Linked DNA regions of Homo sapiens: region 1 is linked to region 2. Evidence: promoter capture Hi-C in human tissues and cell types (Jung and others, 2019). All regions are on one chromosome and are shown on one strand. The core of a region is centred on a gene start or on the middle of the fragment in contact, and the rest is flanking DNA. Distances in the headings are between cores, read along the strand shown.

The links. Contacts are between HindIII fragments. The study calls those that stand out against the background at their distance.
Region 1: a contact is called between a fragment that was not itself captured here and the fragment with the promoter of MYOM1 in region 2, in 2 of the 25 tissues and cell types used here (aorta and mesendoderm cells).

What each region holds. Positions count from the first base shown.
Region 1 is chr18:2,880,523-2,884,657 of GRCh38, reverse strand. The region is part of intron 2 of EMILIN2 (elastin microfibril interfacer 2); the gene reads right to left. Among named protein-coding and RNA genes, the nearest start is that of EMILIN2, 36 kb to the right of the region's middle. The HindIII fragment of the contact is 5,105 bases long and covers 327-4,135 here.
Region 2 is chr18:3,217,026-3,221,674 of GRCh38, reverse strand. It overlaps MYOM1 (myomesin 1), which reads left to right and starts at 1,707. Exons shown (of 38, transcript NM_003803.4): 1 at 1,707-1,872. RefSeq lists a silencer at 3,410-3,704. The HindIII fragment of the contact is 14,410 bases long and covers 545-4,649 here.

The DNA.
Region 1 (4,135 bases), core at 1,630-4,129, 340 kb after region 2:
CCCAAACTGAGCTTTTGTTTCACCAAACTTCTGTTCTACAATTCAGTTTGTGGGGATTTGTTTCAGGTGTCACTAGAGATTGTTTTGTTTTGTGTTTTAAAGAAATATTCCTGGCCGGGCACAGTGGCTCATGCCTGTAATCCCAGCACTTTGGGAGGCTGAGGCCAGCAGATCACTTGAGGCCAGGAGTTCGAGACTAGCCTGGCTAACATGGTGAAATCTAGTCTCTACAAAAAATACGAAACTTAGCCAGGTGTTGTGGCGCATGCCTGTAGTCCCAGCTACCGCTGAGGCACGAGAATTGTTTGAATCCAGAAGGCGGAGGTTGCAGTGAGCTGAGATCACGCCATTGCACTCCAGCCTGGGAGACACAGCGAGACTGTCTCAAAAAAAAGAAAAAGAGGCTGGGCGCGGTGGCTCACGCCTGTAATCTGAGCACTTTGGGAGGCCGAGGCAGGCGGATCACGAGGTCAGGAGATCGAGACCATCCTGGCTAACACGGTGAAACCCCGTCTCTACTAAAAATACAAAAACATTAGCCGGGCGTGATGGCGTGCGCCTGTAGTCCCAGCTCCTTGGGAGGCTGAGGCAGGAGAATGGCGTGAACCCGGGAGGTGGAGCTTGCAGTGAGCCGAGATCGCGCCACTGCACTCCAGCCTGGGTGACAGAGCAAGACTCCAACTCAAAAAAAATAAAAAGAAAGAAAGAAACATCCCTGGCACCCTGCTCTCCATCATGTCTGTGTGTTTACCGCTGCACCTCCCTTTCCTGATGCTAGCAAAGGTAGCCACCAGCTTTTGCAGATGGCAGCTCACACTATTTGTGTCCACTTTTTACAAAGATGCCCTGGTTCATACTGTCAATGACAGAAATCAGGAAGCAGAATTGGAAGCACTCAAAAAGTCCTGTTGACAGTGCACATCCCCTCATGCCCTGGAATATCACACAGAGAGCTTTGCAGTGAGCTGGAAAGTCCTCCAGACTCAAGGCCGGGCCTGGGCCCACAACAGACTTTGACAGCCCTGCAGTCCCGGGCTCACCAGGGAAGGAGCCAGGAGTTCAGCCCCCGCAGCGGCCCCTGCTCACAGCACAGGCAAAAGCCACAGCCACACAGGATGGGGCCTCCCTACTTCAGCCCAATTGTGATTTCCTGCCTTGCAAATCATCTCTCTTGAAGCTCTTCAGCTCCTCTTCATTTCTTACACCAGCACCAGCAGCTGGCCTTCTTCTTGAGCCAATTCCCAGAAAGCAATAGGCTGAGTGTCACTTTTTCAGGGTTGCTGAGAGCTGCCCATGGGGGGAGGCGGGACAATAGCAGCAGCGGGGTTACCCAGCAAAGCAACTCCCTCCCAAGCACCAGCCCTGTGGCAGGTGGACTTCAAAGTTACCTCCCTGAGGAAAGCACAAATCATGTGCTGGACCTTTGACATCCTCCCCGAGGGTCACACACTGACAATTACACTCTGGGTATAGGATCCACCCCGCTGGGACTGGCTAGGCACCCTGCAGAATCCCAAGAGGGCCCTGCCGACAGCTAGGACCCGCCAAGCCCATTAGACCTCCTAGCACCTTCCACTGTCCCTGTTTCCTTTGGTTTTTGTTGTGTTTTTTGTTTTGTAGAGATAAGTATCACTTGGTCGCCCAGGCTGGAGTGCAGTGGTACAATCATGGTACACTGCAACCTCAAACTCCTGGGCTCAAGTGATCCTCCACCTCGGCCTCCCAAAATGCTGAGATTACAGGCACCATGCCTGGGTCATATTTTTTTTTTTTTGAGATGATGTTTCACTCTCGTTGCCCAGGCTGGAGTACAATGGCGCGATCTCGGCTCACTGCAACCTCTGCCTCCCGGGTTCAAGCGATTCGCCTGCCTCAGCCTCCCAAGTAGCTGGGATTACAGGCACCCACCACCATGCCTGGTTATTTTTTGTATTTTTAGTAGAGACATAGTTTCACCATGTTGGCTGGGCTGGTCTTGAACTCCTGACCTCAGGTGATCTACCCACCCTTTAGCCCCCAAAGTGCTGGGATTACAGGTGTGAGCCACTGTGCCCAGCCAATTTAAAAAAATTTTTTTAAGAGATAGGGTCTCACTATGTTGCCCAGGCTGGTCTCGAGCCCATGGCCTCAAGTGATCCCCCAACCTCAAAGTGCTGGGATTACAGGCATGAGCCACCACACCCGGCCTGTTTGCCTTGATCTTTAGGGCAGTGGTTCTTAGCCTGAGCCATCAGAATCACCCAGGAAACTGTGAAAAAATACCCACGCCTGGGTCTCACCCTCAGAGGTTTTGATTTAAGGGGTCTGGGGTGGCAGCCAGGCATGCAGATGTTAGAAAGCTCCAGAGAGCCTTTTCCAAGGAAAACTGAAGAGGAAGCCTGGTAGTAAAATGGAAAAACAAGGGCTGCTCGGGCAGTTGGGAGGATGAGGAGAGGAAAGACCTTCCAGGCTCTTCCTTCTCTCATTGCTGTCCACCTCCACCAAGGCCCTACTATACATTTTCCCCTTTTCACAAGTGAGAAAACAGAGGCTCATGGGGTTAAGCGACTTATCCAAGTTCAAACAGCCCGGAAGGGGCAGGGCCGTTAAACCCAAGCCTCCTCCCTGCACCCCACACAGCCGTTCTCTCAGGCGATGCCTTACATTGGAGGAAGCGGCCCCACCTGGAGATGTTCCAGAAGGCCCTAAGGGCTGGGTAAGAAGGTAGGCAACCCCCACTTCGGCCAACCCATTCCTGAGCATCCCACCCGTGGCCAGGTACACACCAGCCCTCGGTCCCCACCACCACCTAGCAGGAGTCCTCTGTGTGGTCCTTGAAAATGTAAAAAGGGAAGAAAGCATCATTGCGCTGGATTGTTTTGCGTTCTCAAGTAGAGCATAATGCTGGAAGAATGTGTAATCTCAGAAAAACGTGGTTCCTCTGAGCATTCAGACTGAATGTGAAATGTGTTTGCTCTCGGGTTTTGTTCATCGGCCAGGAGATGACGGCCCAGGCCTGCATGAAGCTGTCTCAGAGGAGGCTGAGCCAGGCCAGGCAGAGCACACTCCTGTGCCCATTGAAGAGGAACGGCCCCCACTCCAGCCCAGCAGCGGGCTGTGACCTCTGTCATGCCCCAGAGCGGAAGAAAGGCCTTGCTGTGCCAACACACTTTGTTCTTTTCTTTCAAGGCAATTTTATTTTGGGGCCAGCTCCCCAGCTCCTAATGTAGGAAAGTTCCCTGGAGCCTGGAGCCCCCACCCCTCCCACTCTACACATGTTCCCCACTCCTGCTCCGCGTCTAATCTGCCTGCTGTTGAGTTTCTGGCCAAGGGAGTTCAGGTTGAGGCGCTCCTGACAAGTTTTCAAGTCTAGCATGGGGAAGAGGACTTCCTGGCTGGCATCAACAGTTGGAATCCATCAGCAGCCACCTCCTGCGGTGAGAAAGCTCCCTAGGGATGTCGCATGACGATGACAAAGCTGGATCTCAGAGGTGGCCTTGGGCCCTGCTAGTCAGCCCTCGGGCTCAGTTGGGAGCTCAGGGGGAGGTGGAGATGAAAGGGTTGTCCAATCCCAAATCCCTACTGGGATTTTCCCAGCAGAAAGGGGTTCCCACTAAGACAGTAGCCAGCTAGAAGCTTTCCTAGAGGATGGGGAGCAACAAAGGAGGATTCTGGGTCACCCTCTTCATCACCCAAGGCACTGCAGGAAAATAGCTAGTGAGCTTTAGAAAATGCCAAGGAATTTTCAGCAAAATTATACCTTAATTGGTGGAGGGTGCTCGTACCTTTCTAAAAGTCCCCAAGTCGTTGTCAAGTGCAGCCAAAGTGGAAAAGCCCCAGACCCAGGACCCACTTCCTCCCTTCAGGGAATCGGCCACCCTCCTAAGAGGACCAGGCAGGGGACATGAAACAGAGACAGGCGGCCCAAGCATCCCCAGGGGCCCCGGGCTGTGAGCACACGGGAGATGCTCACTCGATACAGAATCAGTCAACTAACTGCAGTGTGGGGGTGGCCAAGCCGAGGGACCCGCAGCCAGAGGAAAAGTTAAGGCGGCGGGGCTGCGCAGCGCTGGAGGGGCGGACTCGGCTGCAGCCCTGGCTCCCTTCCCAGCCTCGGCTGTGACTGTGATGGTGCCCCAGCCCTCTGGAGAGCCCC
Region 2 (4,649 bases), core at 458-2,957:
CCATTTCAAAATGTCTAGTTTCTTACTATCAAAGTGCCACTGGAGGAGCCAGCAATACATGACTACAAGTACACGGGCTTTGGAATCAAATGTCTCTGAATGAAGTTGCGTTTCTGTCATCTACCCGCTGTGTGATCTTTGGCAAATGCCTTCCCTTCTGGAAGCTTTGCTTTCCTCAACGGGGTAATGAAGCTGTACCTTGCAAGGTATGATAAGTCAGTGGGATCATGTATATAAACTGCCTATCCCAGTGTCTGGCACTGGATAGGTCCTCAACAGTGTTAACTGTAGTTATCATCAAGAAAGTCATGATGAAGTATACTATAATATTGAGTCTGTTCAATATCTTGATAGAGACTGGGTGCAGTGGCTCACGCCTGTAATTCCAGCACTTTGTGAGACTGAGGCAGGTGGATTACTCGAGTCCAGGAGTTTGAGACCAGCCTGGGCAACATGGTGAAACTCCATTTCTACCAAGAGTTAAAAAAAAAAATTAGCCGAGTGTGATGGCATGCGCCTGTAGCTACTCGGGAGGCTGAGGTGGGAGGATTGCTTGAGCCTGGGAGGCAGAGGTTGCAGTGAGCCAAGACTGCACCACTGCACTCCAGCCTGGGCAACAGAGTGAGACCCTGTCTCAGAAAGAAAAACAATTTTGATAGACACAGGTGACCTTTATTCAGTTGATGTAATATCACTGTCAGAACATAAGGCCAGTAGATCAAAATACCAACCTGCTGCATACATGTAATCTAACAATGAGCTTTTATATTATTGGTATCAGTAATAACAGCTGATATTTACTGAGTCTATATTATGTGACTGTCACTAGGTCAAGTGCTCTGTCTGCAGTATCACATTTAATCACCACAGCAATCCTATAATTTGGATATGATTATCCCCATTTTATAGACAAAAAACCTGAAGCTTAGGAAGGAGAAATAAATTGCTGGAGATTACATGGCTACTAAGTGCTATCAATATAGTGGGATCTAGATCTGGTCTGAATCCACAACACAGGCTCTCACAACCGGGTTACACCTCCTCTTAATTGGTCACACCATTTAAAGAACAAAGAAAGAGAATCTCTTATTAGATGGACTGACCCTACTCTGAGTTAGGAAAGATAAAACACTGAGTTGCGTCTCAAAAGGCTTTAGTTAATGAACAGGAAATCACATATTCAGGCTTGAAGCTAAGACTTAACCTTGTAAATTTTCCTGAAGTGAGAGAAATAGTGACCGTGATGTCAGGCAAAAATCGCCACCACGTGTAACCCATTTCTTCCTTGTTTTGCCTTTAGTTAGCTTCAAGTTCTTTTTTCACATTGTATCTTTTAAATGTACCGTACGTGTGTTGTTAACAGCACACTCAGAATCATATCTTGGCATTAAAATTCCACGAAGTCCATTTTGAGAATCATATTACTACACCTATTTTTAGCTGTTAACACAAACCACTCTTTCCATTACACTTTTAAATTATCTACTGATAAAGTGACATTGAAAATAACTCTTGTTGCCAAATAAAAACCCTATATTTGGTTTAATCGGGCCAGACCCATTGACCGGCATTATGCAATTATATTACTAAGGCTGCTACCTGCCCATGCCCCTCTCCTCCTCCTGGTTTGGAACTACCCTCCCCATCTGCTGCTATATTTATCTGCCTTCTTGGCCATAAAAGGCTGGTTGTGTGGCCTGACATTCGACTGCCTGACCACATGCATTATTTTTGAACTGGCCCCCAGGGTCCTGTCTTTAGCCCTGCCTCTTAACATTGTCTTGGATTCAACCTAGGTGGAGTCTTCATTCTCTCATCCAGCTCCTCGGCCTCATCGGAACATTTCCACCACCATTACTCCTTTGGAAACTGGTAAGTGTGACACTGAGGCAGAAGAATGCACTTGATAGCTTATGAGCTTAGCAGCAGTGCAGTGTAAGTGCTTTCTTTCTGTCTTCTGAACTCAGCAGTTTTCTCAAAGAGATGTCAGAATAACAGAGAAATAGGAAAGTGAAGCTCCAGGGAGGGAAACCAGAACAGCCGGGTGCCAGTCGGGCTGGCACAGCTCTTCTCTCACATCACTGTATTCTTCTGAAATTAAGCTGCTGTTCCTGGAACTGTAAGGAGGTCATATCTGCCTCGGATTGAACTGTAAGCGTGTGTTTAATGCTATTTCCAAGTACGGTTTGGTTGAAATCTGAAATGGATGAGAGACAGGAGGCCCTGCATTTTCAATCCTGCATGTGCCATACAATGCTCCCTGGTTACAAATTAGACCGAAAGAAGGAAAATTAACTCTGAAGTCACTAGTTTATAATTCAGGGATCTTGCTGTGACGATGCAATGTGGATAAATGTGAGCGCGCACAATGATATGGCCTCAAATGGTTAAGTAATATTTCAGAGGCAACATAGAGCCCCACATAGTGATTTTTCTGGGAATCGTTTTCATCAGCTTCTGCCCTCTAATGCCTGCACAAAAGTATCATAAATTACAGCTATGGAATTTGTATTTCTTCCTAAATTCTCAAATTATTTTCAGAAAGAAAATTTAGGTCTTAAAGAAACAAAAGACACTAAAACCATCTTTCCTCCCAACGTACTCCAGCCGTCATGTGTTGGAGCTAATCCTGGCTTTAGTTAACTTCAAGGGCTTACTTGATGAAGAGGAGGTGGTTGTACCTTTGTTCCAGAGGTCAGGGCTGTGACAATCAGCAATGTGGGCTTCAAGTCAAACCCTGTTTACTTGTAACTTACTATCTATGTGAGAGGAATAGTAAGTATTATTAAAAATAAATGTATTTGGGAGAAATAGAAATAAAGAGAGTAAAAAATAGTATTGGGGCAAGATATTTAAAGATTTTATTTTGTGAAAATAACAGCATTTCAAGTCATCTGGGGAATGAATTTAGTTTATAACATAACAAGTTTCTTTATTATTTATTTGAAAAATCATTCAAATAACATGTGCCATGTTACAATGTAGTATCATAACAGAAACTTCTCTAATATCTTTATAACTGCCTAACGTAATTCTGTATTAACATTTTCTAACCCCTTTGTTTTATCAAAATTCATCTAGTAGTTATTAATTATACATGGTAATTATCCTCCATATTTTGTAACAGAAAATAGCCATCTATTTAAGGGTTGAAGCAAAGTTGCTTGCTAGTAGCTATTTTTTTCCCTTAGGAAATGCCCTGTAGACTGATATCTTCCATGAACCCTAAGATAAATATTTCTGGAGTGAAGTTTGCTCAGTTTTCTTCTCTGGGGAATACATGCTGACTTTTAAAATAGTTTAAATAAAAAGTAGTTTTAAACTTGACAAAGAATATGCTGAGTTTAGAAGGATTCATTCTTCATTTTGAATTTTTTTAAAAATGACATTTGGAGAAAACAGATCACTTTAAAACTAATTCTACAGCATTAAAACACTTGGGGGTGGAGCTTTTATAAAACTATTACTTCATCCAGGGTTGTCAACGTGGCTGATAGGCCTGCTTCAGTGGATAAACTATTCAAGAATGCTAAGGCCATGTGACATCTCCCCACCCTATGCTAAACAAACATACCTTTGACTTTTAGTAGAACTGCTAGCTCAAGTTCACAATGCCAGCTGTCACCCTGGGAATCGACTCTCTTACCTCTTTAAGTAGGGAGACTAGAAGCCTGCATGTTCCTTATAGAGCAAACAGGTTTTTTTGTTTGTTTTGTTTTGTTTTCTGGTTTGAGACTATACCTTTGCTTGAAATGTTTGTGAGATTTGAGAGAGCTTATATATAAGATTAGCATACTCCAGGGTTCAGTTCTAGGACTTTATTTTACTTATTTTATTTTATCTTAAATTTTTATAATAGAGACAAGGTCTCACCACGTTGCCCAGGCTGGTCTCAAACTCCTGGGCTCAGGAAATCCTCCTGCCTTGGCCTCTCAAAGTGCTGGAATTACAAGCATGAGCCACCATGCCTGTAATTTCCTTTTCTGTGTATAATGGTCCTCATCTGTTTTCTTTTAGGACTTTCTTTTCCGTGTACAATGGTTCTCACCTATTTTCTTGGCTTTCGATACCACCTATATGCTGTTGACTCCCAAATGTATATCTGCATCCTGGACCTCTCTCCTGCACTCCAGAGTCATGTATCCAGCTTCCCACTTAAAATGTCTCCTCTGGGAGGTCTAACAGGCATCTCAGATGTAGAGCATTGAAACCAATCTCCTGTTCTTCCACCCCAAACTGATACTTTCCCACATTCCTCCCCATCTCAGTTAATAGCAACTTGTCTTTCAATTGCTCAGGCAAAAACCTTGGAGTCATCTCTTTCTTTCACATCCTAATTCAGAACTTTCAGCAAATGCCATTGGTTCTAACTTCAAAAGCTGTGCAGAGCTTGACCACCTCTCACACTTTCGCTGCTACCCCTGTCACCTCTAGCCTGGACCATTGCAGTGGACTTTGTATTCTTTTGCCCGGGCTATCATAGCTAAGCGCCATGGACTGGGTGGCTTAAACAACAGAAACTTATTACCTTACAACTCTGGAGGCTGGAAGTCCAAGATCAAGGTGTCAGCTGGGTGGTTTCTTCTCAGGTCTCTTCTCGGCTCATGGATGGCTGTCTTCTCCCTGTGTCTCCACGTGGCCTTCCCTCT